3 separate regions of the Homo sapiens genome follow, and all the other regions are linked to region 1. The links are contacts of gene promoters, found by promoter capture Hi-C in blood cells and fetal thymus (Javierre and others, 2016). All regions are on one chromosome and are shown on one strand. Each heading gives the region's core, a stretch centred on a gene start or on the middle of the fragment in contact. The rest is flanking DNA. Distances are from core to core; before and after follow the strand shown.

Region 1 (3,105 bases), core at 195-2,694:
TTTCTTTAATATCAATCGACATTATTTCTTATGCCAGTAAAGCCTTCATTTCCATGGGGCTGGGCGCCTCATTAGTGAAAGTAAAAGACTGCACAAAGCGGGGGAAGTGCCAACTAGAGAGCCCTCACAACCAAACAAGCAGTACTTAGGTCGGAGGGAGAGAGTTGCTCCTGACCTACCAAGAAAACCACTTTTGTACAGAATATGAGTCATCATTATTGGGTGTTGTAATTGAGAGATAAATCATTAGTGTTTTTGTCTTTTTTAAAAAACATGTCTAAAAAGCTCAAAAGTAAATGCCAGTGTCATATTCTTTTGTTTGTTTTTTGAGACAGAGTCTCGCTCTGTCGCCCGGGCTGGAGTGCAATGGCGCTCTCGGCTCACTGCAAGCTCCGCCGCCCGGGTTCACACCGTTCTCCTGCTTCAGCCTCCCGAGTCGCTGGGACTACAGGCGCCCACCACCATGCCAGGCTAATTTTTCCTTTTTTTGTATTTTTGGTATTTTTTTTGTATTTATTATTTTGTATTTTATTTTGTATTTTTTGTATTTTTGGTAGAGACGAGGTTTCACCGTGTTAGCCAGGATGGTCTCGATCTCCTGACCTCGTGATCCGCCCGCCTCCGCCTCCCAAAGTGCTGGGATTACAGGCGTGAGCCACCGCGCCCGCCGCCAATGTCATATTCTTTAGACATATCACTGTCATTTCACAGCTTTCAAATACTTCCATCTCCTATGTATTATCGATGAAAACCTAAGTTTTCATCTTAGAACGGAGCTGCCCGACTATTAGAAGCGTGGAACCCAGGCTTGCCTTGTCGTCGGGAATGAGCACTAGAGGCACCTGCACGCAGGTGGAGGAGGGAGGCTGGCGGATGGAGAGGGCGAGGCTAGGAGGCCCTCGGGATGGAACCTGTCTCTTCTTTGGACACTGTGGAATTTCCATAAGCTGCTGGACACAGCTGATGGGTACCAGGTATGAGTGGCAACGTTTGGCAATTCCATTAACTGAAAAGAACTACCGAGAAACGGTGAGGCGGGGCGGCGAAGATGAGACCAGCTGCCCATCACTCCAGAGGACCTGCTGAAAGAATCTGAACTCACCACGCCTTCGCGTCCGCAAGGGAAAGGTCCGGCTGCCACGCCCCCGCGACCGCTGTCGCCCTGGGGAAAACACGAGAAACACCCGGCACCGCCAGGTTCCAGAGACCTTCGCAAAGTAAGGGGTAAATAAAAACCGTGGCCCCAGGAACTAGTAGTTCCCAAAGGGACCAAAACCGAGGCTCCCCCAACCTAGCCCGTGTTCACTCCAACTTACCCATTAATGTGGCACTCTCCGATGCCCTGATTTCCCAGTCCCCAGCGGCGACGTGTGTGGCGGGTAACAGAAGGGCCGCCACTCCGCCCCTGGCGTGAAGCGTAGCGACCCAGTTCGCAATCCAAGATGGCGGCCACCTGCGCCCCTTCTCCGAGACCCCGAGGCTCGGCTCCCAGAAGCCCTTGCACTCGACGCGGCGGCGGCGGCGGCGGCGGCGGCGGCGGCGGAGGAGGAGTGGTGGCCGCACATCCTAGCAGTGGGGCGTAGAGAAAGTGCGCGCCGCCGTCCCACCCACCGAAGGAGGAGCCTGTGCCTGCGACAAGCCCTGGATTTTAGTTGCGCTTGCGGTGGCCATGCTGTAGGTACTCTGCGGCCCGTAGACCTCCGTGTGTGCAAAGGGACGACCCCTCATTCATTCATTCTTCACGCGTGCGTGCATGCATACATTCTTAAGGATATAAACTGTGTCAAGTACCATTTTAGATACATTATTGGGGCTACAACAGTGCAAAAAAGTTGGTAAAAATCGCAGCCTTGTTAAGTGTACGGAGAAGCTCACGTTTTCTTCAGCTTCATTAACTTTTATATGCTCTGCTCGTTTTATTTCAAGCTTTTTGTCATTTATAATTTTATATTCTATAACATCTGCGGTTTTTTGTTTTTGTTTTTCTGTTTTTGGGGGGTTTTTTTTGAGACGGAGTCTGGCGCTGTCACCAGGCTGGAGTGCAGTGATGCGATCTCGGCTCACTGCAACCTCCGCCTCCCAGGTTCAAGCGATTCTCCTGCCTCAGCCTCCCAAGTAGCTGGGACTACAGGCATGCGCCACCACGCCCAGCTAATTTTTGTATTTTTAGTAGAGACCAGGTTTCACCGTGTTGGCCAGGATGGTCTTGATCTCTTGACCTCCTGATCCGCCCGCCTCAGCCTCCCAAAGTGTTGGGATTACAGGCATGAGCCACCACACCCAGCCACATGAGTGTATTTTTGACAGCAATGTAGTCACCAATAAACGAGTAACTTCAGTTAAAGTACTGTAGATTATAATACACAGCCCTGTAATCTACCCTGGAGTTCAACAAACGGTATTGAAAACAGACTGTGTTCCAGATGCAATAGGAAGAGAATAAATAAGATAAACAATACATAAATCCTGCCCAGAAGACGTTTGCAATTTTTTAAGAGGAAAAACATGAAGACAAATTGTTTTAAGATGTTTGCTATTTTCAATAGTTGAAAAATAAACAGGAGAGAAGGGATTATTTAACTGTGGGTATGTAGGGCTGAGAAAGGCACGCTTGACAAAGGAAACCTGGGCAGTGTTACCAGAAAGCGTTGCCAATCATGAGTCCATATAGTGAAGTGAAAGCAAGTTTATTAAAGAAGTAAAGAAACAAAAGAATGGCTACTCCATAGGCAGAGCAGTGGCTTGGGCTGCTGGACTGAGTATATAGTTTTTTTGTGTGTTGTTTGTTTGTTTTGACACGGAGTCTTGCTCTGTCGCCCAGGCTGGAGTGCAGTGGCGCCATCTCGGCTCACTGCAAGCTCCGCCTCCCGGGTTCACGCCATTCTCCTGCCTCAGCCTCCCGAGTAGCTGGAAATTTATTGTATTTTTAGTAGAGACAGGGTTTCACCGTGTTAGCCAGGATGGTCTCAATCTACTGACCTGGTGATCCTCCTGGCTCGGCCTCCCAAAGTGCTGGGATTACAGGCGTGAGCCACCGCGCCCAGCCAGTTATTTCTTAATTATATGTTAAACAAGGGGTGGATTATTCATGAGTTTTCAAGGAAG
Region 2 (2,987 bases), core at 105-2,604, 2.2 Mb before region 1:
TGGACAATCAATTCTGTTCTGTTGATCTGTGTCCTTATACTACTGCTACATTGTCTTGATGACCTTAGGTTTGTGTAGTATGTTTTGAAAGCAGGAAGTGTGAGTCCTCCAACCTTGTTCTTTTTTTTCAATATTGGCTATTTTGCATCCCTTGAATTTTCATATGAATTTTAGGATCACTCTATCAATTCTGCAAAGAAGCCACCTGGGATTGTGATAGGGATTGCATTGAATCTATACATCCCTTTGGGGAGTACTGCCATCTTCATGATGCTGCCTTCCAATCAGTAAACATGAGTTCGCCTTTAATTTCTTTGAGTAATGTTTTGTAGTTTTCCTTCTTTCTTTTTTTGAGATAGGATCTTGCTCTGTTTTTTAGGCTGGAGCACAGTGGCACAATGATAGCTCACTGCAGCCTTGAACTTCTGGGCTCAGGCGATCCCCCAACGTCAGCCTCCAGAGTAGCTAGGACTACAGGTGTGTGTGTGTGTGCCACCACATCCGGCTAATTTTTTGAAATTTTTCATAGAGACTAGGGTCTCACTGTGTCGCCCAAGCTGGTCTCAAACTCCTGGCCTCAAGCCACCCTCCCACTTCAGCCTCTTGAAGTGCTGAGATTACAGCGTGAGCCACTACACCTGGCCTGTTGTTTTCATAGTATAAGCTTTGTACATTCTTGATTAAATTTATTCCTACATATTTTATTCTTTTTGATGCTATTGTAATGGAAATATTTTTCTAAATTCAGATTCTTCTTTGCCAAGTGTGTAGACATAGAATTGATTTTTTTTTTTGGTATCTGTCAGTCTAGCTGAGGTCATTTATTAGTTCCAATAAATTTCTAGTGGATTTCTTAGGATTTTGTGTATACAAGATCATGTCATCTGTAAATAGAGATAGTTTTATTTCTCCCTTTTCCTTCTGGATGCCTATTGTTTCTTTTTCTTTCTCTCTCTCTCTCTCTTTTTTCTTTTTGGCCCAATTTCTCTGTCTATAACCTGCAGTACAATGTTGAATAGATATAGTGACAGCAAACATCTCTGTCTTGTTCCTGATCTTAATGGGAAAATTTTCAGTCCTTTATCACTAAAAATGATACTAGCTGTGAGGTTTTTTTAGATGCTTCTTGTCAGGTTGAGGAAATTCCTTTTTGTTCTTAGTTTGTTGAATGTTTTTATCATGAAAGGGTATTGAATTTTGTCAAATGCTTTTCCTGCTTCTATTGAGATGATCATGTTTTTGTTTTTTGTTTTTTTTTTTTGGTCCCTTATTCTACTAACGAGAATACCATATTGATTGATTTTTCAGGTGTTAAATGAACCTTGCATTCCTGGAGTGAATTCCACTTGGTCATGGTGTATAATCCTTTCTACATAATGCTAGATTTAGTTTGCTAGTATTTTGTTGAGGATTTTTGCATCTGTATTCGTAAGTGATATTGATCTTTAGTATTCTGGTGATGTCTGTGTCTGATTTTTGGTCTGTGGGCAATACTGCCTATAGAATGAATTAGGAAGTGCTTCTCCCTCTTTTCTCTCTATAGAAGAGTTTGTGAAAATTTGGTGTTTGATTCTTTAAATTTTCGGTGGAATTCACTAATGAAGTTATCTGTGTTGTTTTTCTTTATGGGTGGTTTTAAAAACTATTATTACTAATATTGCCTCTGTGTTTATAGTCTATTCAGGTTGTTTTTTCTCCTTGAGTTAGTTTCAGTAGTTGGTATCATTCTAGGGATTTGTCAGTTTCATCTAAGTTACTTAATTGGTTGATGTAAAATTGTTTACACTGTTCCCTTACAATCCTTTTGACTTCTGTAAAGTCAATAATAATGCCCATCTTTGATTCCTGACTTTACTAATTTGATTCTTTCTTTTTTGTTTGGTCACCCTAACTAAAGGATTGTCAACTTTTAGTTTCATTAATTTTCTCTATTTTTATTCTCTATTCCAGTAATTTCTGCTTTAATATTTATTATTTCCTTCCTGTGCTTGCCAATAGTTTAGTTTACTCTTCTTTTTTCCAGTGTCTTAACGTAGAAGCTTAGATTACTGATTTGAGATCTTCTTTTTTATTTTATTTTTATTTATTTATTCATTTTTGAGATGGAGTCTCACTCTGTCTCCCAGGCTGGAGTGCTCTGTCTCCCATGCTGGAGTGCAGCGGCGCAATCTCAGCTCACTGTAAGCTCCGCCTCCCGGGTTCACCCCGTTCTCCTGCCTCAGCCTCCTGAGTAGCTGGGACTACAGGCGCCCACCACCACGCCTGGCTAATTTTTTGTATTTTTAGTAGAGATGGGGTTTCACCATGTTAGCCAGGATGGTCTCGATCTCCTGACCTTGTAATCCACCCACCTCGACCTCCTAAAGTGCTGGGATTACAGGTGTGAGCCACTGCGCCCAGCTGGCTATTGTTTTAATCTTAGGGTTCTTTGTTGATCTGCCTAGTTTTATTATCCTTATGAGTTGATGATTTTATCCTTTTAAAATGCCCATTTTAATTGCTAATAATTTTTTAAATTTAAAAATCTTTTGTCTGGTATTAGTATAAATACTCCGGCTTTCTCATTGATATTTACATACGTATGTTTTTCCATCCTTTTACTTTCAACCCATTTCTTTCTTTGAATCTAAAATACCTCTTGTAGATAGCATATAGTTGGTTTTTCTTTTTTGTATCCATGCTGTCAATATATGCCTTTTGATTGGATTATTCAGTCCATTCACATTTAATGTTACTGATACGGTTGCATTCCTATCTGCCATTTTATATTTTGTCTTCTATATGTCTCAAGTTGTTTTGTTTTTTTTTAAATTCCTTTTTTACTGCTTTCCTTTGTATCAAATGAATATTTTCTAGTATAGCATTTTTTATTTCTTTAATGATTTTTCTCTATTTTTGTTATGATTTCCTTAGTGGTTGTTATAGGGCTTACTTAATGTATCAGTGTTTCAGATGTAGACTTATTTTATTTCACTGAGATACAGAAA
Region 3 (3,244 bases), core at 12-2,511, 2.2 Mb before region 1:
GAATAATCAATATGGGAAATGCTATAAAGAAAGCCATAAACAAAGGCCTGTCTTACAAGAAGTACTTTCTCTGGGCGTGGTGGCTCACACCTGTAATCCCAGCACTTTGGGAGGTCAAGGTAGGCAGATCACTTGAGGTCAGGAGTTGGAGACTACCCTGGCCAACATGGTGAAACTCCACCTCTACTAAAAATACAAAAATTATCTGGGCGTGTTGGTATACACCTGTAGTCCCAGCTACTTGGGAGGCTGAGACAGGAGAATCGCTTGAACCTAGGAGGCAGAGGTTGCAGTGAGCCGAGATCATGCCACTGCGCTCCAGCCTGAGCAACAGAGCAGGAAACCATCTCAGAAAAAAAAGAGGTACTTTCATTTTTCTAAACCAGAAATGCTCAAGGTGTCTGCCTACATTAATTACTAATGACTCATCTGAAGGTAGGGTTTGAAGTCATCCATGGTAATGGAACAATAATTAGTTTGCCCAGTTGGCATAAGGACCTCATATTTATTTTATCTCAAAGCCATTTTAATAGTATACTATGAAATTGCAATAGCAACTGCTTTAAAAATTGCATAGTAAAAGTAGTTAAAAAGGAATAGTAAGAACATTACCTTAGAAAAGTCTGGTTTTACTGGTGGATTTTCCCTTAATTCTGTCTCAGTATATTCATTATTTACATAATAGCCAACTCTAATAAATTCTTGTCCTCGATAGGTACAAGTAATTAGCACAACAGTTACGCCTACTGCATCTGCATCTGGAATGAGTCCTGGATTAGGTGCATCAGCCTAGAATAAATTAAAAAGAAAAGAAACACACACACACAAAAGGCTGTTAGTGGCAGGCAAGACTGGAGTTTCAGTTACCTAGAACCATCAGTTGAGGATGCAACAAGAAAAACTTGGAAATCATACTGGGAAGGAAAATGCTCATTTCTGACTGACTTATAATAAGCTGGAAAAGACAGTTCATGTTTTGCCACAATATATGTAAGGACCCTTGATACTTGAAAGCATGACTACACTTGTAAAAGGAAGAAATTCTGGCTACACTGCATGGTGGTTCATGAAAGGATTATACACTATTCATTATAAAACCTTTATAGTCAGCAATTGATTTTAACCTTTTCAGTCATAATTTTCAGACCTAAATTAGTAAGTATTAAATGATCTCCTCATAGACTGTTGGCCACAAATGTTTATTATACCAGTTTCCCTCTTCAACCCAGGATACTTATATTCTCATACCCACTCAACCACCCCCACAGGTATTCTAATAGTAAATTAGTATAAAACTGAAAATGAGGTTGGGTGTGGTTGCTTACACTTGTAATCCCAGCACTTTGGGAGGCCAAGGTGGGTGGATCATGAGGTCAAGAGATTGAGACCATCCTGGCCAACATGATGAAACCCCATCTCTATTAAAAACACAAAAATTAGCTGGGCATGGTGGCGGGTGCCTGTAGTCCCAGCTACTTGGGAGGCTGAGGCAGGAGAATCACTTGAACCGAGGAGGTGGAAGTTGCAGTGAGCTGAGATCGCACTACTGCACTCCAGCCTGGCGACAGAGTGAGACTCCGTCTCAAACAAAACAAAACAAAACTGAAAATGAGATGGAAATAGCTACATAGCAGATTTTCAAAAAATATTAATAATCCTCTATTATGAATAGTTACTTTGCTAGACTCTACAATATAGTATGCTCTTTAAACCACACATAATGTGGAAACCAGTGAAGGTAAGGATTGCTTTAGGCAGATGTCAAAGACCTTGTTTTAAATCAAGCTATTGTAAGGTGAACCTTGAGGAATGCAGAAAGTAAACTGAGTTAGACTAGACTAAGAGCATGAGCGAAGGGCAGGGCCCCATCCGTGGTAGGGTGCAGGTAGTAATGAGACGACCGGATGGAAGGAGCCAGACTGGGGAACACAGGCAGTGATGGCTGAGGCATCTGAGGCAGCCATTCTGGGTGGTAAATGGATCAAGTCCCAGCAAATTAGCTTACCTGTTGCCAGGGCACCAAGGAATATTCCTGGGCCTAGATGAGCACTTTAGCCAATGCCTTAGCTTGTGAAAATTGAAGACTGTTGTTTACTGTATGCCTAACACAGGTAGATGATACAAAAAGGCATAAAATCGCTACCTAGTGTCCTAGGCTAAAAACCTCAGTCAGCTTCACTCCCTTATCTCCTACATCTAGTCAGTCTCAACATTTTTTTCATTTCTGGAGGCTGAATTCATGTCATCTCCTATCTGGAATATTGCTTAGAATTTTCTAACTGATCTCCCCAGCTCTAGCCTATCATTTGCACTGCTACCAGCATTAACACAGATATGTTCTTTCTCTTTGGTTTTAAAACCTCAGATTATTAAAACCCTCAGAAGAGTATTCCCTTTTCTAAGGGATAAAATCTCAGTTCTTTAACTTCATTGACAAGGCCCTTCTCAGTTTGTCTCCAGCCAATATCTCCATTCATACCTCCTTTAACTCCACCATTGTTCTAGAGATATGAATCACACAGGTTCTTTAAAACGTGGTGATAATCTTTTCACGCTCTGAGCACGGTGGCTCACGCCTGTAATCCTAGCACTTTGGGAGGCTAAGGTGGGTGGATCACTTGAGCCCAGGAATTTGAGATTATCCTGGGCCACATGGCGAAACCCCATCTCTACAAAAACAAATTTAAAAAAGAAATACTTCACCCCCTGTGCTTCTAACATACTGTTCCCTTGGCCTGAAAGGTCCTTCGCTCACATCCTGAAAAATTCATCTTTTAATCTTTTTTGGAGCTTACATCGAGTGTATTCTCAGTGACGCCCTTTCTAACTCAGAAGGTAGAATCAATAGATTCCTTTTTTATGTGCTGATATTTCTTGTCACAAATTATCTAAGAACGTATGCCCTGTGATCTAAACATGTTTATTTTTCAGTCTTCTCTTCTAGATGCTATGCTTTATCCAGGGCAGGAGTCCCATCCAGTTCATCTTTATAATCTCGTGTGGCTCAGCTCTGAGCACTTAGTATTTTGGAATTCATTTGTAAATCAGTTCCTGCCCTGAAGGGGTTTATGATCTCTTGGCAAGACACCAGGATAGGGGACAGCCAGCCTTGTCCTGGAGAATATGCTGTTTGTCTTAGAGATTCTACACACCCCTGCACAGAGGGGTTAGATTACTTTCAGTGTACCCAAACGGATTCTAATATACCTGAAGTGGGTGGAGATGGGAAATATATAATAGTTCA

Evidence for each region. The method cuts DNA at HindIII sites, captures the fragments that hold promoters and counts their contacts. A CHiCAGO score of 5 or more calls a contact.
Region 2: a fragment that was not itself captured here is called in contact with the fragment with the promoter of KPNA5 in region 1 in 3 of 17 cell types (naive B cells, non-activated CD4 T cells and total CD4 T cells); the score reaches 5.7 in naive B cells.
Region 3: a contact is called between a fragment that was not itself captured here and the fragment with the promoter of KPNA5 in region 1, in 3 of 17 cell types (M1 macrophages, M2 macrophages and total CD4 T cells). The highest score is 9.0, in M1 macrophages.

What each region holds. Positions count from the first base shown.
Region 1 is chr6:116,679,550-116,682,654 of GRCh38, reverse strand. It overlaps KPNA5 (karyopherin subunit alpha 5), which reads right to left and starts at 1,444. Exons shown (of 14, transcript NM_001366306.2): 1 at 1,317-1,444. The coding sequence starts at 1,320. RefSeq lists enhancers at 1-863, 864-1,847. The HindIII fragment of the contact is 1,991 bases long and covers 1-1,928 here.
Region 2 is chr6:118,884,330-118,887,316 of GRCh38, reverse strand. All of the region lies in intron 8 of MCM9 (minichromosome maintenance 9 homologous recombination repair factor), which reads left to right. Among named protein-coding and RNA genes, the nearest start is that of ASF1A, 8.3 kb to the left of the region's middle. The HindIII fragment of the contact is 1,375 bases long and covers 667-2,041 here.
Region 3 is chr6:118,903,197-118,906,440 of GRCh38, reverse strand. The region is part of intron 8 of MCM9 (minichromosome maintenance 9 homologous recombination repair factor); the gene reads left to right. It overlaps ASF1A (anti-silencing function 1A histone chaperone), which reads right to left. Exons shown (of 4, transcript NM_014034.3): 3 at 613-789. Among named protein-coding and RNA genes, the nearest start is that of ASF1A, 11 kb to the right of the region's middle. The HindIII fragment of the contact is 4,304 bases long and covers 1-3,244 here.